Regions from separate parts of the Homo sapiens genome. Here all the other regions are linked to region 3. Evidence: promoter capture Hi-C in 16 types of primary human blood cells and fetal thymus (Javierre and others, 2016). All regions are on one chromosome and are shown on one strand. The core of a region is centred on a gene start or on the middle of the fragment in contact, and the rest is flanking DNA. Distances in the headings are between cores, read along the strand shown.

Region 1 (3,625 bases), core at 962-3,461, 690 kb after region 3:
AAACACAAAGTATATATATACACACACATATACACAAAGTATATATATATACACACAAAGTATATATATATGTACACAAAATATATATATATACACAAAAGTACTTACAAGGCATGTTCTTACCTCAAAAAGATGCCAACTTATTTATGAGAAATAGATCCTACTTTATGGAAAAGCAAAATAGGAACATGACAATAAACCAATATGATAAAGCACTGTCAGAGTTCAAAAACACCTATGATACCTAAATGTACTCATGTAGTTTGGATCAACCAGAAAGGCTGGTGACAAGAGGTACAGCTTACTTGGTAACTTAAAGAATAAGAAGGGTTTGAAAGTGAAGAGACGGTGAGAATAGCTAAAGAAGAGGAAAACAGCATAGCCTACAAGACAGGAGATGATAAAGTTTAGGGGCTATTTAGCAAATAATAAATAAATTGATTTAGAATAGAAGAAATCATGTGTTGGAAAAGAGGCTTGAAACAAGTTCGGTGTTAGAGAAGAGAATATTAAGAAACAAGTGGGAGATAGGACTTCTAAATGCTGCACTAAGGATTTCGGATTTATTCTCATGGTAAAGGAGAGCCAGCCAAGGCTTTTCTACAGGAGAGAGGTATAATCAAGCAGCGTGAAGCTGAGTCAGTAGGGGGATCAGTGAGAATAGGAAGACATCAGGGTTGGGGAAGATGAAAGCTTAGTTTAAGCATGAGTTAATTCTACCAGGATGATGGTAATTGTTATATTAAGATAGGGATGAATAAGAAATATTTCAAAGGTATAAAGGATAAGCTTGTTGACTGACTGAACTTAAGGAACAAAGTAAAAAGCAGAGTCAAAGTGGCAGAGGCTATAGCCAGGGACAACGACTACATATCCAGCCTTTTCTATGTCTCGGGGTGAAGATGCCTTTCTTATTCACTATTTCTCTCTTCAACTCCTCCACACCACCATGCAAAATCATAGCCCATCTATGCTTGACGTGCCTACATGTAGAAACCTGTGATGATCTCTCCAGCGAGAAAGCAGGTTTAATCCCTTGACAGTCCTTGACTCATAGTAAGTTCTTATTTTATTTTTAAGACCGGCATGGATGACTTTTACTTAATATCTGTTCTTTGCCATTTAATGCTAGAGCTGATGATATTGAGTGGCCATTTCACAATATGTACCTGTTCTGTGTTAGGAACACTTCTAAAAGGGGCTTGGAATTATTAATTTATACAAAAACATAAAATTTCATCTTGAATCTATAAACTTGCTTTAATACAATGAGTAAAAGTGATCATTTTAGCTTTGGATCTGAATTTCACTTGAAGGCATGCACATGGGATTAGGAGTTGGGTGAATAATCAGGACTGGAAAAGTAAACCTAGAAATTATTGACATGGATAAAGAGTTGTTGATACCCTGTGAGAAGGAACTTTGGGAAATGTGGATGGAGGAGGACAGAAAGGAGCAGAGAATAAAAGTATGAAAGCTAGCCCTGTAGGCTCAGCATTGCTTTTAGTTTATTTTAAATTCCTCTTTTATTCACTTAGAAATATGATCTTTGAACTTGTGTTTATTACAACGAAATTATACCATCAAGAAGATTTAATAATTAGGAGGGTTTTTTTTTTTCCTTTTTTGTAATTGAATTTTATTGTAATGGCAACTTAAATAAAAAAATGTAGGGTAGCACTGCCACCAAATGGCTACTTTTCAATTCTTTTTTTCTGGTATTTTTTTCTAAGGCAATGCGACAGTAAGTATGACTTTTGTAGATATATTTCAGGTTCAATAAATCATCTGTATTTGAAAAATCTTTCAATTTAGTTAAAGACTGCATTTTAAGTAGAAAAAAATTTAAATTGATAGGAAGGTGGCACAAAGGAACCTGAATGTAATGGAGGTTCTTGTCCTGAAAGTAATGTAACTGTTTGTAATGAAAACTGACATGTCGAGGTTACCACTGTAACTAAACTTCTGTCCTATGGCTCAGAGGGTCGGAGTGAAGTTCCAGTATTAAGTTAATGTTTAATGAAGACTTTTTCATTTTAAAGCATTTCCTTGACTCTTTGTCATCCTCTAGTTCCCTCCACATCTCTCTTTTTCTTTCAAACTGAACTTTAGGAAAGAAAAAATTATATTTGATTTCTCTATAATACTCCTTCCTGCTTACCCAGCACTCCCTGGAAATTCTTTTGGCAAAGCTCATCAATGGCTATTCTTTCACTTAAATCCAATGGGCGCTTATACTTTAATTGAACCCATTCTTACCTTGCTGTGATTTTTCTGTTGTTGTTGTTAACATCATTGGCTGCTCCCACTCCTTACCATATTCTCTCTTCATGGCTTCAGGGTCCTGCCACTTTGGTTTTCTCTGTTATCTCAGTGGCTATTCAGATCTGGCCTGTCACAGCTGTGTTTCTCTTACCCTCCCCTTAAAATGTGATTTTTCTTGTGGTTCTATCCTTAGCCCTTTTTTATTTTGGTTGACAATTTTCTCTGGATAGGTCCTCTATTCCCATGGCCTCAACTATCACCTATTTGGGAGTGTCTCCCAGAATTATATCTCCAGCTCAAATCTCTCATCTGAGTTCCAAATCCGCATATTCATATATTCATCTTGGACATCCCACATGTTTCTAATGTTTACCATGTTCAAACTTTAGTTGCTCACTCTCCTCTTGCCCATAAGCACATCTTTCCTCCCTGTTTCAGTGAGTTGTACCATCTACCTGTTTGCCTTCATGGAACACAAAAGAATAATTTCTAACTCTGTCCTTGATTGCCTCATCCATCTAGATACTTGTAGGCTCTCTGTGGAGTCCATCTACTTCTTTCAGTCATCACTGCTTCCTCCTTGGCTTAGGTCCTTATCATTTTTACCTGGAATATCAGATCAGATCAGATGCAGTGACCCCCATCTGATCTCCATGAACTTAAATTTGTCTTCTTATTTGTCTTCCACATTATTGCCTAGAATGATATTTTTGAAATGTGTTTCTCTCTGTAATGAGTTAAAATTCTTCACAGTCCCTGTGATCTTCATAATAAAGTCTATTTTTTTAGCATAGCATATAGATCTTTATATCTTATGGCCTTTTATAACCTTTCTAACTCCCCCCAACCCTAATCTTATGTGGTAGCTGTTCTCAACTGATTGAAGTTGGGGACCCCTGAAGGACATTGTTTGCCTTTTGCCTCCAGACCCTTCTACAGTGGTTGCCTTGTTTGTCCCACTCCTACTAGTCCCTAGTCTCTTAGCTCAGAGTTTTTCCAGTTACCTGTTCTATTCCACCTACCCTGTTTGGATTTGAATTTTAATGCTCTACTTCTGTGCTCTTGTAACATTTTGTGCTCACCCACATAGTAGAGTAATCACATTCTCAAAGTATTTGTTTTTCTCTCTCCCTGGAATAAGATCTTCTTGGAGCCATCGAGAGACTATGTCTATCTTTATATCCCTAGGCTTTTGCATTTGCTATGGTGAAATTTGTCCCTAAAAGCTGATATGTTGGAAACTTAATCCCCAATGCAACAGTGTTGAGAGGTGAGACCTTTAGTAGGTGATTAGGTCATGAGGGCTCTGCTCTCATGAATGGATTACTGTCCTTATCATGAGAATGGGTTTATTATCATG
Region 2 (3,414 bases), core at 618-3,117, 720 kb after region 3:
GAGGTCTACCACAGGGAGGTAAGGGTAAGGTCTGGATAGGCATAACAGAGAAGGTGATGCTTAAATTGAGTATGCAAAGAGTAGATCTTCAGCATCAGGACCAAGAAGGCCACTGCAGAGAAAGGGAGCATTAAAAGCAAAGACGATGGCACAAAACCCCATGGTCCATTTGATGAACTGCAAATAACTCAGTTGGTTGCGACACAGAAGAGTACAAGGGGAGCACAGGCTATGGCGAGAAAAGGCCTTGGATAAATAAGCAGGGGGCAGATGTTGAACTGTGCAGACTCAGTGCTGGAGCCAACAGTAGCCAGTGAAAGTTCTTACATACAGATTTTAAGAAAGATCACTCTATTGGAAATAAGGAGGGCTGGAAAGACCGAAGACAGAGGAACTAGTTTAAGGACTATTATAATCATGTAGTTAAAGGGCGATTTTGGCTTAGATAAATGGTTCTTCGTTCTGGCTACATAGTGAAACATCTTGGGGATCTTTTTAAACTTACAGATTCCTGGGCTCCACTCTGGATGAATTAAATCAGAATCTGGAGGTCTAGAACCTGGCATTGGTATTTACAAAAAAAAACCCCAAGGGATTGTACTATGCAGCAAGTTTTGAGAACCCACAGCTCAGCTTATGATAGTTACATCAGAGATAAAGAGTGGGAGTTGAATTTGAGGCATTTTTAAGGTGTGAATTTCAGAGCAGTGTATATACATTACTGTATGTAAGAATACCCAGAAGATCTTGAAAACTACAGATTCCGAGTCAATAGGTCTGAAGTGAGGCCTGAGATTCTGCATTTCTAACAAGCTCCCAGGTGATGTCAAAGCTTCTTGTCCTTAGACCATACCTTGTGGAGGAGGATTATGCATTTTGCATAGGGGAGAGAGGGAGAAAAAACATCAAGAATGATTTATTAATTCTGACATTGGTGACTAAGGGAATCTGATCATAAGAATTTAGAGAAAGATCATGAACTCAGTTTTGAACATATTGAGTGTAAATGTGCCCATGAAAAATCTGAGAGAACATGCAAGTTCTATAGCTTGGAGGAGGTGTCTGTACAGGAGACAAAGATGTGTGCATCATCAGCCTTCTGAGAACAGTTGAACCACAGGAGTTGATAAAAATGCCTGGGTATAGTGTGGAGTGTGAGGTGGGCTAAAGACAGATCCTGAGAAAAGTAAGAAGAGAACACTAAGGTGAAAAAATAAGATTTTTCCAGGATATAGGAGGATAACCAGTAGGATGATATGTCATAGAAGCCAAGGGAAGAGAGAGGAATTCAATAAGAGAGCAATCAACTCTGACAAAGTCTGCTTGAGAGTCCCCATAAGATTACTGAAAGAGGCCCATGCAATATCGCAATAAAGAGGTCACAGATGAACCTAGTGAGAGTGGCTCTGGAGTCCTTGTTCTGGAAAGCCGACCACTGTGAGTGGACAAGTGGATGAGTACCTGGAGGCAAAGAAGTATTAAAAATAGGACCGTATTTCTTAGCCATGCTGCCTGGGCTGTGGAGGGAAGAGGAAGAGATAGATGGTAGAGGTAGTCTCAGGGGGCTAGGGAAGGTTTCTTTTTGTTTTCTTGGTTTTTTTTTTTTTTTTTTTCCTTTTACTAACTAGATTTGGCATTAATTTTGATCATCTCTCTTTCTAAGAGTAGGTTTATTATCTCTTTTATTTGATTTCGGCCTGACTCATTATCTTAGTTTACACTCTGCTCCTAGTTTAAGTCATTAAATACATCCTTAACATCTTCCTGTTACTAATTCTGTCCTTAGTTTTGAGTATAAATTGTTCACAAATGGCCTTTAAATTCTTTCAACATTGACAGTCTACCCTGTTCCCTGGTTCCCAGCTTCCCTGACTATTTTTGTTGCCTCTTCTCATGCAAGTCTACCTCAGAACATCTGTTCTCAGTACTTTCTTTGTCTCTACTGAACCTGAGCTGGTAGTAATTTCCTTACTCAGGGCTGCTCTTTTTACCCAGAGTTCTATAATCTAACACATTACAACAGATTTTTGTCCTTGATTGTATATCAGAATCACTTTAAAAATACAGATGACTGGGCTTCACCCAAAGTCATTTAAATCAGAGCCCCTGAGGTGGGCCTTGGGCCCCAGCATGTATTTCTTGTGTGTGGTTGATGTGGTGCAGAAAGTGCTACCCCAAAATAGGGCTCTTTGGCATTTGAGGAACCAGCAGAAGCAGGAAGGCCACTCTCACTCTTCCTCCTCCATTATCCCCTGAAGCAGGTCATAAGACCTAGGAAACCTCTCCCATCTATTCCGCTGCTTCTCCTCTGAACACCCTCATTTGAAAGGTGTCCTGCCCTAAAACCGGAGGAAAGGCATGTCACTCAGAAACACCAAGAAGGATCTGGACAAACAAACCTTGTCAACTTCCCTTCAATTTCTTACCATTCAAACTTCTGCATGACTGTCCATAACAATACATGGTTTTCCCTGGGTCTTTCTGTCTTCATTTTTGAAGGCTGCCATGACATGAACAACTGCCTTTTGTCATGAGGAGTCAGCAATGCACCTTATGATGGGTGAGAAAAAAATCTGTTCTCCTCTACACAATCAGGTTTGAGAAGCACTGCTTTATAGGCGGTGGAACGTTGTTTCTTCTGCACAATTCAAAGAAAACCAAAATACCTATTTTAACAAGTTAACAGATTTCTTCATCTATATCTAGATGAACATATTGATCTTAGGAATGTTATTTTTATAATATCACAAAAACTTATTGAAGGAAGACAGAATTATTATAAGCAGAAAGTGTATGGCTAGGATAATTCCTGGAAGGAAGTGTGAATTAAGACAGGAAGGGGAAATGAGGGAAACGTCTGGAAACAATGTCTCAAGATTGAAGAGACTAAACAGAAGCTTGGAAAGATACTAGTATCAAACCAGAAGGACCTGGAAGAGTGACAATGAAACTGTAGCTAGGATAGGGGTCCAGGGGAGACAGATGATTTTGTAGAATTCCATATTTATAATAGGGAGAAGCAAGTTAGCTTAGAGTTTCAGGTGGCTGTTAGGAAACAACTCTCTCCTCCAAACATGAAGTTATATCTGAATCACTGACTGATATAATTTTGCTTTCATCAAGAACTCAAGAAATATTCAGGCTGGAGCTAAACCATGTTAGGAAGGAGAAAGCAAGGTTTTTCAAATCCTTATCACCTGGTTCTTTTCTAATAATTTGCCAACATATATCTCATTTGTACCCTGAATGCCTACTTCATTGACAAAGATACATCTTCCACTCCTTATGGTTAGTTGCTCCTAATGAAAGAGTAACGGGAAATGTTGAAATATTAAGCTTAATTCCAGCATGAAACTAAATAGAACTTCCTGTATTTCTTTGGATAACCATGGCATCTATAGACTAGGAAGAATG
Region 3 (3,508 bases), core at 118-2,617:
CGAGGATGACCCAGGGTTCACCTTCAGCGTTGAAGGCAAGTCCTGGTATAAGGGACGCACATAGGTCCGCGCCACATCCTGACACTGTTTCCACAGGAAGTGCGGGATAGGAGGGGGGATTCATTAATCCAGGTCGGAAATACACCTTGTTCCTCGAGGATTTTGGAAGGAAATTCCACCCGCGAAGTCCCCTTTTGGAGATGCCCTTTTCCTTTCAGGTACAGCATCCTTCATTATGTACCCCCAGGGTACAATGTATCCGGGGCTCGCAACGCGTCCCTCAACCCCCAGCAGCGCGGTCACCGCGGGGTCCCCGGGCGGGCGGGGGCGGCGGTGACGCAGGAGGCGGTGGGGCCCCGGTGCGGCGGGCGCGGGGAGGGGGCTGCTGGGCGCGGGCCTATCAGGACGCGCGGTGTTTCGGGCGCGGGGAGGGCGGGGACCTCCAGGTTTCCTCGGGGCCCGGCGCAGCGCCGCCTGCCGAGTTCCGAGCGAGCGCGCGAAGCGCGCAGGGGTCTCGAGACGTTCCCGCCGGTCCCGGTTTTCCTCCGCGGCTCCCCCGCCCCTTCACGTCCGCCTCTTTCTCCAACCAGACGCGGCTCCGACGGCGCTCGGCCTCTGCTCTTCCGGCTCCCCGGCTCTGCCCGCAGCGCGCGTCGCCCGGTTGCTCTTCGCCTGGTGTCCGCGGGCCCGGCGGGGGCGCCTCACCCCGGGCGCGCGGCGGTAATGCCGCTGCCGCCCTTGCGGCCAGGCAGGCAGCTGGCGGCGGCCGGAGTCGGAGCGCGTTCGTCGCTGGCCGGGACGCCGCCCTGGCCTGTGCTCAGCTCCCGCGGCGGCCGCGGGGCGCCGGGGCCCGGCGCGGCATGAGGAGGCGGCTCGGTGCAGGCGAGCGCCCAGCTCCTCGGCCCCGAGGGCCCCCGCGGGCCCCCGCGCGTGGCGCGCGCTGGTTGCGGCCCCGGCGCCCACGCTAGCCCCGCGCAGGCAGGAGACGCCGCGGCCCGGAGTAGGAGGCGGCGCAGGGCCTGCCGAGCGGACGCGGGCGGCCCGGACCTTAAGCACGGGGCTTCGCGGCGGGACCCCGCCGGGCGCGGGCAGCGGAGCCGGGCGTGCTGCAGTTAGCTGCCCCTCTCCGCAGGGGCGCCGCGGCGCGCAGCCTGCGCCTCCTCCCACCTGCAGCCCCTCCTCCCGCCGCTGCTTGGCGGAGAAAACGCTCCTCCTCGCCCTTCCCCGGCTTTCTTCCGTCCTGCCGTCCCCGGGCCCCTAGCCCCCAGTCCCCTCTCCCCCCTCCACCTCTTGTCCCTCGGCCTCCGCGCCTCCCCTCCCCCGACTCTCTGGCCTCCCATTCATTCCGTCCGCTCCCTCCCATTTCCTCTTTTCCGCTCGGGCCCTCTCCCCAGAGCCTCCCCGCGCGGACCCCGCTGCAGTCTCGGGGTTCTCAGCACATTTATGGAAGTTTAGGGCCTGGACAGTGGCCCCGAGTCCGGCCTGAGAGCGCAGCCTGGGCTGCTGGCAGGGAAGAGGAAGATGTCTGTGCTCAGGCGGATGATGCGGGTTTCCAATCGCTCTCTCCTCGCCTTCATCTTCTTCTTCTCCCTCTCTTCGTCCTGTCTGTACTTCATCTATGTGGCCCCAGGCATCGGTAAGCACCGAGACACACCCTCGCTTCCCCTGGTCACACCACAGCCAGCGCAGGCTGTTATCCGATGTTACTTCTGGGATTTGGAAGCTGTTCAAACAGGGGCCCGCAGAAAAGCGTTTTGTTTTAAATGTTATTTCAGACGTGTCAAACTGCTTCAGGGCATGGCTTTGGTATGTGAGTTTTGTTAATGCATGCATTTTGTTAATGCATGTTTGTTAATAACGTAAAAGATTGCATTAAATAGACGTAGCAAAATTAGTGTGATGGCCCGGGATGCCCTAGTCGCTTTCTTGAGTGTTCATGACAGCTTTATCCATTTAATGTTAAGTCTTTAAGCCTAAACTGAGTGCTTAATCGTAGTTTTATTCAAACACTCTCGGGTATAATAACTGGTTGTAAAAATATGGAGGAGCCAGCAGCAGGGAATGTGATTGAGTCCAACAATGTGTGTTTTCTAGGGTCCTAGGTCGCTTTTTTAGAATGGGGTCAGTGGACCCCATTCTTTTTGTGCCATACTTGGGGAATTTTAAGGCGATGAGTTGTCTTGTAAAAACAATGCTCCATTATTTTAGTCTGCTTGGGTGTTATTTTCAAGGGTACGTTGCCTTTGCTACCTGTTAGGATGACTTCTGAGAAAATAGTGATTAAAATAACCGTTATCTAAGGGAACTTGTAGTTTAAAATGTTAACCGGTTTATCATTTTTTGGCCTTTGGTGCAAAATACACTTTTGTAAAACTGCTTGAATTAACTTCTTTATTAAATATCCGAATTCCTCGTCCCCCATTTGTTGAAAAGGAGCCAATGCGGCGTTAATTCTAGTGAATGAGAATTATGAACTTCACATGCATATTAAAATATGTCATATTTCCAAAACTTTTCTGAGTTTTTCCTGGCTATTACGTATTTAATGTTCAATTACTTAGTAACAGTGAGCATCTCCTCTCATTTCTCCTTACACACTGTGGTCGTTTGAGCCAGTGCTCTTTGTTCCGAGTTAGCTAAAAATGTAATGCCCCTTACAGAGTGAAAACACCTGCAGAATTTTCAGATGGAATGATCAGGGCATTGTCTTGAGTGTAGTAGATTATTGCAGTGAATTGCAGCAGGGAAGGAAGATGGAAACCTAATCCAGACTGCTTCATTTCTTAAAATTACTATGAGACTTTTTCTTTAATAATTAATTTTTGGATTCAGTGAGGTGTATAAACTCAGATGATGATGTTTAAGAAGAAATGCATTGTGAAACGTTGACGTATCCCAAAATAGAAGTTTTAGGGTAAAGTTTGAAGAATATTTTAACATTATTGCAGTTTTCCTTTAGGCCAGAAAAAACAAAAAACCTCACAAAAACCTACCCCTTGAAGCCTATAGTACAAATGACAGTGGTAGCTTAGTGGATTTGATATTATCTAGATACTCAACAAGAGCTTTCTTTATTTTTTGCCATTTTGGAGTCTTATAAATTAACTCTTCATTCTATAGCAATTTTTACTTTCTCATGTAACTCTTTAAAAGTTTGGACATCTTTGGGGTATGTTTTTTTACTAGGAATTTAACTTTGAAAGATTTTGGAGAAAGTTTTTTTCACACTTACATAACAATTTTCCCACTTTCTTAGTATTATGAGTAACATGTTAAAGTTATATTACTCAAAAAGCTAACCAAAGGAAATCAGAATTCTAGTCATCCCTTTTTTTTTAAAGTTAGTGCGTCAGTATATTATTTGTAGATTCTTAATTCAACTTGTGTGAAACACTAATAAATTTTCCTTATTTGAATGCTTAATGTTTGCCATAGAACGGTCACTGATATAATGTAAAAATGTTGGCACGTGTCTTGTAGGCAATTAGATTGATGTGGCTTAACCTAC
Region 4 (3,513 bases), core at 364-2,863, 600 kb after region 3:
AGCATTTTAAAAAAATTTACCCATTTTTTTCTCTTCCTCATACCAGGTACAAATAATTTTATTCATCTTAGGAGGGTAAGACAAGCTGTCCTAAAATTTATTTTGTAGTAAATAACTATTGTTTATAGTATGAATCCCCTAAAGGAGTATCTCATGTATTAATATCCAAGAACCCTCATTAAATACTCTCTGAAATCTTCATCAATACCTGTTATACTACTTATCTTAAATTTGCAGTTGAAGAACAATTTTCTGTCCTTTTTTTTTTCCAGCTTTACCCAAGTACTGAATCAGTGGGAGAACTCCTCTGTCTCCACCACCACTGGGTTTCTGGGTGTATTAGTCTGTTCTCACATTGTTATAAAGAACTACCTGAGACTGGATAGTTTATAAACAAAAGAGGTTTAACTGACTCGCAGTTCCACAGGCTGTGTAGGAGGCATGACTAGGTAGGCCTCAGGAAACTTATAATCATGGCGGAAGGCAAAGGGGAAGCAAGCCCATCTTCACATGGCAACAGGAGAGACAGAGCAAAGGGGGATGTGCTACACACTTTTGAACAACCAGATCTTGTGAGAACTCACTCACTATCATGAGCAGTGGGGAAATCCACCCCCATGATCCAATCACCTTCCCTCAGGTCCCTCCCCCAACATTGGGAATTACAATTTGACATGAGATGTGGGTGGCGACACAGAGCCAAACCATATCACTGGATATATGTTTCATATTCTCGTGGTTATTCCCAACATGACACTTAACATATTTCCAAATTTAACATTATATATACTCGTTAGCATTGCCAAATATTAAATGAGTTCATCTGATTTTTCAATACATTTGCTTTCGTAGCCTTTGAATTATGAAGAAAAGCAACAGATGATCTTGCAAATTGGTGTAGTTAATGAAGCTCCATTTTCCAGAGAGGCTAGTCCAAGATCAGCCATGAGCACAGCAACAGTTACTGTTAATGTAGAAGATCAGGATGAGGGCCCTGAGTGTAACCCTCCAATACAGACTGTTCGCATGAAAGAAAATGCAGAAGTGGGAACAACAAGCAATGGATATAAAGCATATGACCCAGAAACAAGAAGTAGCAGTGGCATAAGGTACTTACCATTCTATTTTAGTTTTAAAATATATAGCTTATTTTGTTACGTTATTATAATTTAGCATATGATAAATTTTATTATTTTAATTCATCATTACCAACAGGTATAAGAAATTAACTGATCCAACAGGGTGGGTCACCATTGATGAAAATACAGGATCAATCAAAGTTTTCAGAAGCCTGGATAGAGAGGCAGAGACCATCAAAAATGGCATATATAATATTACAGTCCTTGCATCAGACCAAGGTAAGAATTTGTCTTTAAGCCAGCTACATACTTCCTTGGCTACATACATCTTCAGTGTTTAAGCCAACAGTATACATTTTAAAGCTGGATACATGCACTCTGTTTTCATATCTCTTGATAATATAAAGTAAGAGGTTTACTATAATTTATTAACTCATGTCTGCTTTCTAATAGCCTTCTCAGTTTTAGATGTAATTATAAAATAATTTACTCTTAGAAACACTTGAGACCATAATTTATTAAAGTTAAAATTATTAAAAATTGAGAAAATTATTTTAGTAAAACTTGTTTCAGCTGGGTGTGGTGGCTCATGCCTGTAATCCCAGCACTTTGGGAGGCTAAGGCTGGAGGATCACTTGAGGTCATGAGTTCGAGACCAGCCTGGCCAACATGGTGAAATCCCGTCTCTACCAAAAATATTAAAAATTAGCTGGGTGTAGTGGCATGCACCTGTAATCCGAGCTACTCGGGAGGCTGAGGCAGGAGAATTGCTTGAACCCAGGAGGTGGAGGTTGCAGTTAGCCAAGATCGCGCCACTGCACTCTAGCCTGGGCGACAGAGTAAGACTCTGTCTCAAAACAAAAACAAAAACAAAAACAAAACAAAAACAAAAACAAAACTTGTTTCAGTTTATCTACTTATTTCGCTTAAAGTGTTCACTTTGTAGGAAAGTGAGAACATACTTACATAGTGCAGTCCTGGAAAACATACTTACACAGTGCAGTCCTGGAAAACAGCTCTAACTTTTTACAGGAAGCTAACAATATACTTGGGGGTTAGAATTCTGATTAAAGACATTATATAAAAATAAATCATGGTATATTTATGATCATGGTAAATAAATAGTATATTATAAAATTAGAGAGACAAACACTATGAATTCATATAATCATATAAAATGTAAAATTATGTTCTGTGCATTCTATAAAATTGAGAGAAATATGAGTATGATGATTATTTATGAGACGCGTTTGGTGCATAAAATATAATTTCTATAACATGAATTTGAACTTTATGTCTTTGTAAAATAAATATGCTAAATATAACAAACAAATTATTATACTATAACTTGCAAAATTAGAATTTAGAAGTGATTTTGGAAGATGATTTATGTATTCCAGTTCTCTGTAAATTAATGAGAAATGACTCAGTTTGTTAAATTGCTGAAGTTGTAATCATTATTGATTTGTCTTTAACTAATTAAAGACTGTCCTTTAAGGCCTCAGATTCTCATGTCTTTTTGCCAAGAAATACTTGTTGGTCAAAGGCAAATGAAAAGAAAAAAAAAACATGAAACTCAACGGCACTTGGAAATAGTTTATTGACAGTTGAGATAAAAATTGCTGTCTGAAATTAGAAATTTTGCCTATAATTTTATTCTACATTCTCGTCTGTTGCAGAGGAGTTTAAGTGATTGAGAGATCAAATATTTGTTATGGAATTGAGATGGGGCACTGCTTATCATCATTGTGATATAGAATAAATGTGTAATGAGGCTGTTCGCATTCATTTCTTTTGAAGAGGGTGGGAGTCATTGTGTTACTCTGTGTGAGAGAACTGTGAATCAGTAATTCCACATGTGTTTACTTTGTGAATTGAATGAAATGAGATTATACAAAAGTGTGTCATTTTTTGAAAAACCTTTTTCTAAAATCTATACTGGCTAATTTCATTTGGGTTCTCCCTGCCACTCCCTAATGGAAACCTCTCCTCCCTCATGGATACTGCTGTCTTGGGCTGGTGCTCACTTCCTGCCTTCCTACATCTCCGCAGCAATTGCTTCCTCTTTTTAAAACTCTCTCTCAAGGCTTCTATGTCTAAACTTGCCCACACATTCCTGCATGCTTTCTGGTCTTAACTGCCTTCCCCTCTCCTAAACATATATATTTCTTAAGCTTTAAATTCAATTTATCTTTTCTTCTTAACTTCTTAATCTAAATTGTGTGGGCAGCTTTACCCAGAAATCACCTCTATCTAGTTGAGCTTGAGATTAATGTTTCTATTGTATTATTCCAGCTGTTAGAATGGGGTTACTTGCAACTATTTTAAAACATTTGACTGAAGAGCATCATGCACATAAAGCATGAAACCATGGATAGTGCACCTCATGTGACTTCATATTTGGAATTAGCCTTTGTCCATGTAGAATTATATT

What was found. The method cuts DNA at HindIII sites, captures the fragments that hold promoters and counts their contacts. A CHiCAGO score of 5 or more calls a contact.
Region 1: a contact is called between a fragment that was not itself captured here and the fragment with the promoter of B4GALT6 in region 3, in 1 of 17 cell types (M0 macrophages). The highest score is 5.6, in M0 macrophages.
Region 2: a contact is called between a fragment that was not itself captured here and the fragment with the promoter of B4GALT6 in region 3, in 1 of 17 cell types (M2 macrophages). The highest score is 5.9, in M2 macrophages.
Region 4: a contact is called between a fragment that was not itself captured here and the fragment with the promoter of B4GALT6 in region 3, in 1 of 17 cell types (M1 macrophages). The highest score is 6.5, in M1 macrophages.

What each region holds. Positions count from the first base shown.
Region 1 is chr18:30,997,445-31,001,069 of GRCh38, reverse strand. The region is part of intron 14 of DSC3 (desmocollin 3); the gene reads left to right. Among named protein-coding and RNA genes, the nearest start is that of DSC3, 43 kb to the left of the region's middle. RefSeq lists an enhancer at 3,310-3,625. The HindIII fragment of the contact is 2,840 bases long and covers 792-3,625 here.
Region 2 is chr18:30,962,234-30,965,647 of GRCh38, reverse strand. No RefSeq gene overlaps it. Among named protein-coding and RNA genes, the nearest start is that of DSC3, 79 kb to the left of the region's middle. The HindIII fragment of the contact is 2,065 bases long and covers 835-2,899 here.
Region 3 is chr18:31,682,440-31,685,947 of GRCh38, reverse strand. B4GALT6 (beta-1,4-galactosyltransferase 6) reads left to right here and starts at 1,367. Exons shown (of 9, transcript NM_004775.5): 1 at 1,367-1,636. The coding sequence starts at 1,522. RefSeq lists a silencer at 231-1,270. The HindIII fragment of the contact is 10,803 bases long and covers 1-3,508 here.
Region 4 is chr18:31,077,692-31,081,204 of GRCh38, reverse strand. It overlaps DSC2 (desmocollin 2), which reads left to right. Exons shown (of 16, transcript NM_024422.6): 10 at 853-1,109; 11 at 1,216-1,358. Among named protein-coding and RNA genes, the nearest start is that of DSCAS, 22 kb to the left of the region's middle. The HindIII fragment of the contact is 3,284 bases long and covers 1-3,255 here.